Linked DNA regions of Homo sapiens: region 1 is linked to region 2. The links are contacts of gene promoters, found by promoter capture Hi-C in human tissues and cell types (Jung and others, 2019). All regions are on one chromosome and are shown on one strand. The core of a region is centred on a gene start or on the middle of the fragment in contact, and the rest is flanking DNA. Distances in the headings are between cores, read along the strand shown. Region 1 overlaps MTBP (MDM2 binding protein). Region 2 holds the start of DSCC1 (DNA replication and sister chromatid cohesion 1).

Region 1 (4,890 bases), core at 2,221-4,720, 650 kb after region 2:
CAGGAGGGAGAGATTAGAGCAGAGAGACAGATGGCTCTATCTGTAGGCTAAGTGAGAGATGACTGTAATTTCAAACTAGAGCAGTAGTAGTGGAAATAAATTTGGGAGATAACGTTAGTGGTAAGCTGGTGAAAAGCTTCCTATGATGCATTAGATGTGGAATAGAGGGAAAGGAAATGTTGAAGATCATTTAGATTTCTGGCTTCAGTCGAGTGAGTGGTGTTCTTCTGGGGTAGATGGGTGGAAACTTAGGGTGAGGACAGCTTTGGGGAGAAAAAGTCAAGAATTCTTCTTTAGGGATGATACGTTTGATCTATCCAAGTGGAAATAACAAGTGGACTGTGGGGATATCTGGAACTCACTCAATTTGGAGTTATCATCAGTAGGGATTTCCAAATACATGATGGTTGATGAGTTACATGGTGAGACTATGAGGCAAAAAGAAATGGAGGCTAAGACCACTCCTTAAGAATCCCTGGTGTTTATAGGTTAGGCAGGAGAAGACAAGAAAGAAGAGTGAGAAAAGGACAGGTTCCCCATGAGAGAACCTCAATTTCTTGCCTACCAATTTTAGATGATATCTTATAACTTCCCACTGGGAAAGATGAGTAATTAACACCCTTATTTTTCTTCCCTTTTTATCTTCTATCTCTAAACCTTATGCTATTTGCAGTATACAAGTCTTAATTTTATTTTTCTTCTCTCTGAGTTCCTACTCTAACTTGGCTGACTCTACCTGCATATTTGTTATCCTGGTATTTCTTTTGATTACATTTTAGATTAGTTCTGTATTTTCTTGGATTTCATATATTAAAGAGAAGTCTGATGCCACATCGATTTTTGTTCCTCAATAAGTATTTTATTTTGTCTCTAAAACTTTTACAATTTTCTATTTTCTTTAATGTTCTGAAATTACAAGAGGCCATGGTATGAGATGTTTTAGATTCAAGTCTTTTGTCTTTTTGTGGCTCTGAGAAATATCTTATTATTTCTTCAATACTATTCTTCCCTTCATTTTCTTTTTTTCTTTCTCTCTGAAATACCTATTTTAATTAATATTAAACATTCTGGATTGATGTTTTTTAATTTGATTTTTTTCTTAATATTCTATCTCTAACTTTTCTGCTCTATGTTCTGGGGAATTTCCTTTACCTTTGGTTTCATCTTTTCTGTTAAAATTTTTGGTAGTCATATTTTAAATTTCTAATAGTTTGCTCTTGTTCTTCTGCTGTATTTTTTCTAGCAACCTATTCTTTTATTAATAAGACTTGAGATGATACTGTAAGGATATTAATTAGAATTTTCTTTAAATTTGTTTTATCTGTTTCTTGAATTATCTCATTTCCATTTGCAGCTGTTTTATTTGTTCTTCTGGTGTTTTTCTCTTATGTGTAATTTTTCTCCAGTGTCTGGTTGTCCTTGATTGTCTCTTCATAACTAGGAATATAGGGCCCTGTTGCTTTCTATAGGTAGTTGGCATGTATTTTCTTTCCATAGGTTTAGTCCTGTTCCCCACGTCTCTCACTTATATTAATGTTAGGAGAAGGGAGAGCCGGGGTAGAGAATGTTTGTCAGGCTTCACTTTAGGGCATACTTTAGGGTATCAGCAGGCAGGAAGCATTGGTGCTTCACCCAGCACTAAATTACAGGGGCTTTATTCTGGGCCATCACCACTGACACTGAGACAGGCACTGTATCTTTACAAATTAAAATCATTGTATAGCTCCCACCCTGCTGGAGTATGAAGTCCGGAGAGAATTTGAGTGTTTTGTTGACTGTTTTTATTAGATTAATATTTTCAGTTTAAAAACAAAGGAATAGGAAGAGGAAAGAGGCACTGTCAGTATTTTATTGACCCTTAATATACAGAAATATGTTTAAAACTGTAATGTCAACATTTTAATCATGTAATTATCAGTAATTATGCTTAATTTGAGTAATAATCAGGAAATAGTTGAGTTAATATGAAGTTAGGAAATTAATTTTCTGTGCAGACATTGAAATATTTTATTTATGCTATGGTAACAGAGCTAAGGTGATCTGATTCAGTGCATAGTGAAACCTCTAACTGAAACCTCTAACTGGAAACATCTAACTGAAACTACAGTGCTTTTCACTTGCCGGTATTTAAAACTTTCTGTGAGTTTTTTTTCATTTATAGGGTCATAGAGTAGAAATAATAACTAATTTGGAGTTAGTCTGGTTCTATCATTTTAAATAGCTGTATCACCCTGCGTCTGTAATGTAACCTTTTGTATGTTAGCATCTTTACTTGACAAGTCGGAATAATGATTGCTTTTTAAGCTTGGCATGCCGATTTTCACTTTACAAAGTACTTATTTTTAGTTATTATTTCATTTTGAGATAAGACCTATTCCATCTTTTTCAAGGAAACTTGTGAGGATTAAGAATATATTATATGTAAAGTAGTTTGAAAAATATAAAGTCCTGCATGTATTTCAGGTATATAATAATGATTCAGTGCTTATTCATAATGTCATCATCATGGCTACAAGAGACTTTGGGGAGATTTCTGATTATTGTCTCATTTCACGGTTGTGCTTCAAGTAATCTTTCCAGTTCATGGAAAATTGGAACATTCAGTCACTTCCCTCAAAAATTTATAGTATTGTGGGGTTTCAGAACATACAAGAGAATTTAGATTTAAGTTTTATAGAATTGGTAACTTCACACCACTGAATAATAGGCCATCATTAATAGATAATGTAATTATGTTTCTTTTAAGTAGTTAAAATACTACTTCTTGACATGATAACTGCAAGTTTTATTGTGACCTAAAGATTTTTTAAAACATAGTTAGAAACTAAGTTATTTGCAAATATTTTACTTTATTGTCTGTCCTAAATGTTTAATTCTCCCATGTTGCTGGTGTGTTTTTCTGGTTTCTGCTCACATCTTCTTTTCCCGACTGTGCTTTTTTTTTTTTTTGACTCTGGCTTCTCTCTGGATTGAATCCACTTTTAATAAATCTGCATAACATTATTTTCCCAGAACTGGTTCATTACCTCATTCATCTGAACAGTTGCTGGGCCACAAAGAGGGTCCTCGGGACTCAATCACATTGTTGGATGCTAAAGAATTGCTGAAGTACTTTACCTCAGATGGATTACCCATTGGAGATCTTCAACCTTTACCGATTCAAAAGGGGTAGGTTATAAACTTATAATTTCCAGTTAACTTTTTAAAAATTACTTTTAAATAAAATTGTGTCTCATTTCCTTATTAATTGATGTCCTATGCTACTCAGGGAAAATTTATAAGTTTGATCCCAATGTTTGTCTGTTGGCCTTAATCTTCACTTTTTACCTTATCAAAATATCCTACTGTTTTGTGGTATTGAATATAAGAGAAACAGGAATAAGAAAAGCAAACTCACCATATTCCCTGTAGAAGTCAGTAACTTCTATTTGGTATGCAAAGGACAATGCTTTCTAAAAAAAATAGGAATTTGACTTACAAAATTTTTTTTTTAGTTCTCTTTTCTGTGTTACTGTAGTGTTGATATTGCCACTACTCAGCATGAGCATTGTCAGGCATGCCTAATAGTAGCAAAAAGCATGGCCTTTCACCTGAAGAACAGGAAAATGTAATAAAAATGCTTTGGAAACTATGACATTGCCAAGTAAGAATTCAGTGTCTACGTGAATAAATTACAACTAATTTGACTTCCAAGACAGTTTTCACTAAGTTACTAGTTAATAAATGCTGCATGTTGCTGACTTTGACAAAATTGACTGTAAAATTGTGACATCAAATACCTGTGAGAATTGAATAATTTACTAATTACTCTAATGTCTTTTTAATTGTTAATTCATTACTTTGAAAACCTTCCAAAAGACCTTAAAAATTGTAGATCACTTTGATCACTTTTATAAGCTTAATCGGAATTATACTGTATAAATATTGCCTTTAAAGGTGAATTTTGCAAAGGAGTTATTTGAAGGCAGTTATATCTCAGAAATATTGCTGGAACATTATTGCTTTATGTGCATGTTCACTAGAGAGAGATAAAGAGCAACTGAAAATTTGAGAGTCTTAATGACTTAATGATTTTAATGACATAAAAATTATATAATTTTGGAGTAATTTTTTTCCCATAACTTTGAAAGATTGATAACCTTTTGTTGTGGGAATCAAGAAAGTAAAGAAATATACATGTTTTCATCTATTTAGTTATTGGATTACTGTCCTTTCAAATCATTAAGCACAAACTGGCAGAGTCAGTTGGTTTGCCTAAACTGAATTATTTATGTAAGTTGTACTCTTTTTACAGAATGTCTTTCTAGATGCATTGTAGGGGAGATAAAGTTAGTTCTTTCTGGAAACTAATTGTAGGTGATTTATTTAGGAAAATTTGATGTGATTCTTCAATGTTAGTAAAGAACTGCATGGCTATCAAATGTATCTTCTGTTAACATTAGAGTTGAAGGATGAGTTTTCATGGTAATAAATCAGGAACCTATATGCTCTTATTAAATGTTTACCTGCACAAGAAGCCATCCAAAATACTGTGTTAAACAAAGTACAAACATGACTCCTATGTATATACCAAGGAAATAATAAACATTGACAAAACACATATTTATCAACATGTTTATTTTAGAAAGAAAAACTTGTGAGTGAAATTAAACAAAAATAGGTAAGGTTGCTGAGGGCGATTGATATGAGAAATGAGAGACAATATGGTAAAGGAAAGAAGTAAAATGCTAGATAAAGATTTCCATTTTACAAAATTATTTTAATAATCATCGAAATACTGGGGTCATTGTAATTTACTAATGTTACTTTTTGTGGAATAATTTAAATGGATGCATTTGAATATAATGTCTGCTTTTTAGGATTCATTAATTGGCATGAATTTTACATTTT
Region 2 (4,990 bases), core at 1,643-4,142:
TTTTCATTCTCAGACTTTTATAAATCAGAGTACAGAAAAGAGCACCTCAGTGTGAATAATGTTACAGTGTGAATCTTCCTTCTTCAACTGGTCCGGAGTTTTACAACCAGGAATGAAAAGCAACATATTGGAAGTGTCTGCTATCTTCAAGTCGTATGTTTTGTCTTTACTGCACAGCACAGCTTGCTCGTCTTTATCACCACGAATCACAAGACTGTAGCAAAATGGGGGAAAAATATATAGTTTATTGACAATCCAGTAGCCATTTTCATCATAAACAGTTCTCAAACCCTCTAGGCTTGCAGAACTTAGAATTAAGTTTTGATGCTGCCTCTGCCCCCTGCTAGCACAATGCTGGATTCCACACAGCAAGCATTGGGCCAACTGAGAGCCACACAGACGCCCCACCCAGAGCCTCATTAAGGAAAAATAATTAAAGATGGGCAAGACAGATCCATAGAGGCCAAGAGGCCAAATGGCACTACATGGCATCTTGTGCAAACTGCTGGAAAGAACACAAGACAAAGCATCCTGAAGCTTCAGTCAAGCTGTCTCAATTTTCTACAACATGCTAAAGTGGTACTTCTCAAATTTATGCATAGGCATCTTAGAGAGTGTTGTTCAAAAGCAGAGTGGGATACACTGGGTCTAGGATGGGACCCAGGGTCCCGTATTTCTAACAAGTTCCCGAAGAAAGGCCAAGGCCAAGCTGCTGCTCATGGTACCCCACCCAAGTGTCGTCCTTGTTTTGTTCTGAGTACCCCCTCACAATCAAAGGAGCACATCCTGGCCTAACCATAAGTTGTGTTGCAAAAAAATTGGGACCTTATGAAAAAAAGGATGCAGTGGTGAATGAAAAATATGAAAAGGATATGTTTAAAAACTGTACTAAACCAAAGACTTTGACAAAGGGATTTTGAAGAAAAGCAAGAACGCAGTGGCTCATGCCTGTAATCCTAGCACTTTAGGAGGCTGAGGCCAGAAGATCGCTCGAGAGCAGGAGTTTGAGACCAGCCTGAGAAACATAGCAAGACCCCATCACTACAAAAGAAAAATTTAAAAGTTAGCTGGGTGTGATGATGCACACCTTAAGTCTCAGCTACTCAGGAGGCTGGTGGGAGGATCGCCTGACCCCAAGTAGTCATGGCACCATCATGCAGAGAGCCGTGATTGTGCCACTGCACTCCAGCCTGGCTGACAGAGTGAGACCCTGTTCCCACCACTCTCTCCCCAAAAAAAAGATAAAGAAAAAAGAAGGAAGAGGAAAGGATGAAGGTGAAGCGGAGGAAAAGGAAGGATTAAAGACAAAGATGATGGCAATGACAGGGGAGTTGGTTCTAGCAGTTTTCCTTGTCTGTAAAGCATTTAATTCTCCTGTGCACAACTCGTTTCTTTTGAATAAATAATAAGAAACCTGAAATAGCAGACTGTGTATTTATTTTTGACTAAGTCTTCATTTAAGTAAAAAGAATAAAAGGTTTTTTAGATTCCTAATGCTAATAATGCTTAATAGGCCCAAGTACCTAGTCTTTAACATTTATTTCTCTAACTGCACTACCCCCACTTTGAAATATTTTGTTTATACCATCACTCCCTACACCCCAAAATTAAAAACACACGTTTCCAGGGCCTGTTTTTATTTTTTTGTTTTTGTTTTGTTTTGTTTTTGCCAGCTAGATTAACTAGAACTGGACCGAGAGAAAGTCCTCACACCTGAGTTCCTTTCTCAACTCTCCACCAACTGAACCGGGATGGAAACAGACTAGTGAAGTTCTTTCAGTTCCCTTAAAGGTACTTTGAGGTATATAGCAGGTATCTGAAGAATGGCCAGTTTACTCTAACACTCTTTGGTGGGCAAAGTACGAAAACTGAAAGACAGCCTAAAGGATTCCATTAAGAAAAAAGAGAAAAAATAGCCTAATAAAATATAGGTGTCGGAGGACCAATTGTGCAAAAGAGAATCAAGCTGGAGCTCCCTATTTTGCAGGAGCTGGGGCTGCACAGGGTGGAGGGATATAACGATTCTCTAGACTTCTCAAGACTGCCTTTAAAAAACTACCTCAACTTCGACTTCTAATCAATGATCTTGCAGCAAGTTTGTATCTGACCTGGAATTAGAAACAGCTTCAGATCCCTACTAAGCAAGTTTGCTTCGGGGTGGGTAGGGGTCTCACCCAATTACCAAGTCTGTAAGCTGATTCCCAGCACTTCCTATCTATCATCTGAGTAAAATAAATATAAGTGGAAGGCAAGAGTTCTATAAACATTGGGTATCACCACTGTATTTTAAGGTAGAGTGACAGGTGTCCTGTAGAGTCCCTGTAATCACCGGTAACTCTTCAAAAACTTCACGGAGGTTGTATTAGTATTTCCTGACTTGCTCCCGCTGACACATGCCTCCAAGGTCAGCTGGACCAGTGCTACTCATCACCGCAGTGCAGCTAACTGGACGGCCCACCGGAGGCGTGGACTCCTCGGGAACAGGCAGCTTGCTATGAGCCCCCGGCCAGGTCAGTGCATCTCTCTGGCCCTGTTTTCTTATCCCGACTTTCCCCGCTGAGAAAATAACGTGGCCGGCCAGAGGCTGGGGGCGCCGCGTGACCAGGGCTCACCTGTGTCCATCCTCCAGCTGCTGGCACAGCGTGGGCTCCAGCTCCAGCAGGCAGAAGTCGCCGGCTGCAGCGCCGCTGGCCCCAGGGCCGAAGCCCAGGCAGTGCACCGCCGGCAGCAGCTCGGCCGCATTCAGCTTGGCGATCTGCAGCGTCGCATCCACCTCGTCGCGGGTCCTCTTCATCGCAGCGCCGGGTCTAGGAGTCCCGCCGCGCCCGGGTGGCTGCGGGCTTGGCGGGCAAGAAAGAAGTTCCCAAGCAGCCGGAAGGTAGGAAACCTGAGCGTTTGAAAGCGCGCCAAGGCGGCCATGGGCGTGTTTCCGGGGCGGAGCGCGCTGCGGGCCCGCCCGCGGGAAGGCCTGCCGGCTTCTGGGAGCGCGAGCCCCTCCGTGCCCCACGCCGGACCGCGACTGCAGGAAGGAAACGCGGCTTCCCGGGGGGCGGTCTCGGCGGAAGCTCGCAGGGGCAGAGCTGCGACTCGGCGGGTTGGGACACGGATCCCTCGCCCACCCTTTCCGCTGTCCCCTTGCCCGCCCCCCATCCCCGATCTCCGTCCCTGGTTTCCAGCCGATGCTCCCATTTCCTCGCCGTCCACATTGTCTCACCTTCCGCCAGTGGCGGGCCCTGTGATAACCACTTGGCATGTATAATTCCATGAGCCCGTTGCCACAACCCTGTAAGGTGGTGCCTTGGTCATTCCCTTTTGCCAATGAGGAAGCAGGCTCCTTGCTCGTGATGGCAGAGTCAGGAGGTAACAGAGTCTGACTCCAGCCTAGCCGACTGTGGCTCTAAAAGCTTCCTGCGGGGTTTTGTGCAAATAACCCATGCTCGGGAGCGAGGCCCTGGGAAGGAGTATCTCGCTTCTTTGGGTCAGGGCACCATCATATCTGGAGACAACGGCGGGACTAGTCTATTCGTTGAATACCTAGTGTTAACCGAAAAGTGACTGATGCAGGTCTCGTTCAATAGAGGTTTATTTAAGCAAGGTTGAGGACGCACCCGAAGGGAAAAACAAGTCACAGGAGCATCTGTGACTTGTACATTTTCCAAAGGTTTGGGGAACTTCAGTATTAAGAGTTTTAAGAGAAAAGGTTTTCACTATGCACACATACATGAATTGCTTGTAACAGCGTAATGTGTAAACTTTCCCAGAGATGCTTAGGGAATCGTTGAGGGCCCTGGCTGTCCCTGAGAGCTAAAATAGTCTGGGAGGAATCACTTAAGAGATGGTGACCTCCTACTAGTTAGTGCAAATCAGACCTTGCTTGAAGTGAAAGAAAGTGGTGGGTAAGGTGTTGAATTCAAAGGATCTGAGCAGACATTTTTTTCAATTCTTGGGTAAAATGATACGAAAATACCAGAGTAGGGCATCCCAGGAGTCTGGGCAGTGCTTTCGTTGGTGGTGGAAAGATTGGTTCATGTGACCTACTTCTTCACTAGCCTCTTTTACATTTGAATGCATAGGAATTCGGTGGAATGAAATCCTGAATGTGACAGTGGTTGCCTGATAAGAAGTTATTATTGAAGGGAATCAACCATTGTAGTTGCTCTATTAAATGGGAAACATTCCCTACAACTAGAAGCAGTGTCAACTAGAACCCTGACATTTACATCAGACAGGCATGGCTGCGAATCCCAACTCTCTTCAGAACTTTGTGACCTAAGGCAATTTACCTAATTTCTCTGAGTACAACTTCCTTATCGATAAAAAAGCACATAAGACCTACATTCTTAAGATGTACATTCTAAAATGCATGGCTGCTTAATAAATGGCAGCAGTTCTTTTTGTTTTTATGTATTAATCATTATGAATTTAATTTCCAATTAATGGTATGAAATTATTGCCATTAATTTGATATTCTGTCAGGGAGCTGGACCTGTGTTCCTCTCATAAGACAAAATGATGATAGTTTTTATTAATTCATTCTTTAAAATTATGTTAATATGTTTTTCTAAAGTAAGAAATTTTCTGTACCTTTTCAAAAAACGATTGAAGCTGGCTTAATCATTCATCTGGTAGCAGGAAAAAAATATTCTTTATCAGGTAAAAAAATGAACAGTTATAATAAATTTCAAAAGTTCTGTTCATGAGAACAGAATCAGCTAAAATTGATTCTGTTCTCTTGGACACTGTACTCTTGATTATATTGCTCATATATTGTGTTTCATGGCATGAAATGAGAATTTTATTTACTAAATCTTAGTTCATATTATAGAATCATGTATGAACTTTTTTCCTTTTCTTTTCCTCTCTTCTCTTCTTTTTTATTCAATAAAGAGCACAGTGACGGCCAGGTGCAGTGGCTCACGCCTGTAATGCCGACACTTTGGGAGGCCAAGGTGGGCAGATCACCTGAGGTCAGGAGTTCGAGACCAGCCTG

Evidence for each region. The method cuts DNA at HindIII sites, captures the fragments that hold promoters and counts their contacts. A contact is called where the count stands out against the background at its distance.
Region 1: a contact is called between a fragment that was not itself captured here and the fragment with the promoter of DSCC1 in region 2, in 2 of the 25 tissues and cell types used here (lymphoblastoid cells and mesenchymal stem cells).

The regions. Positions count from the first base shown.
Region 1 is chr8:120,503,694-120,508,583 of GRCh38, forward strand. It overlaps MTBP (MDM2 binding protein), which reads left to right. Exons shown (of 22, transcript NM_022045.5): 16 at 3,013-3,168. Among named protein-coding and RNA genes, the nearest start is that of MTBP, 61 kb to the left of the region's middle. The HindIII fragment of the contact is 4,501 bases long and covers 1,221-4,890 here.
Region 2 is chr8:119,853,002-119,857,991 of GRCh38, forward strand. DSCC1 (DNA replication and sister chromatid cohesion 1) reads right to left here and starts at 2,893. Exons shown (of 9, transcript NM_024094.3): 1 at 2,613-2,893; 2 at 46-214. The coding sequence starts at 2,794. LOC105375728 (a long non-coding RNA gene) reads left to right here. Exons shown (of 4, transcript XR_928590.3): 2 at 1,674-1,801; 3 at 2,405-2,878. RefSeq lists an enhancer at 2,565-2,874 and a silencer at 2,985-3,044. The HindIII fragment of the contact is 8,457 bases long and covers 1-4,990 here.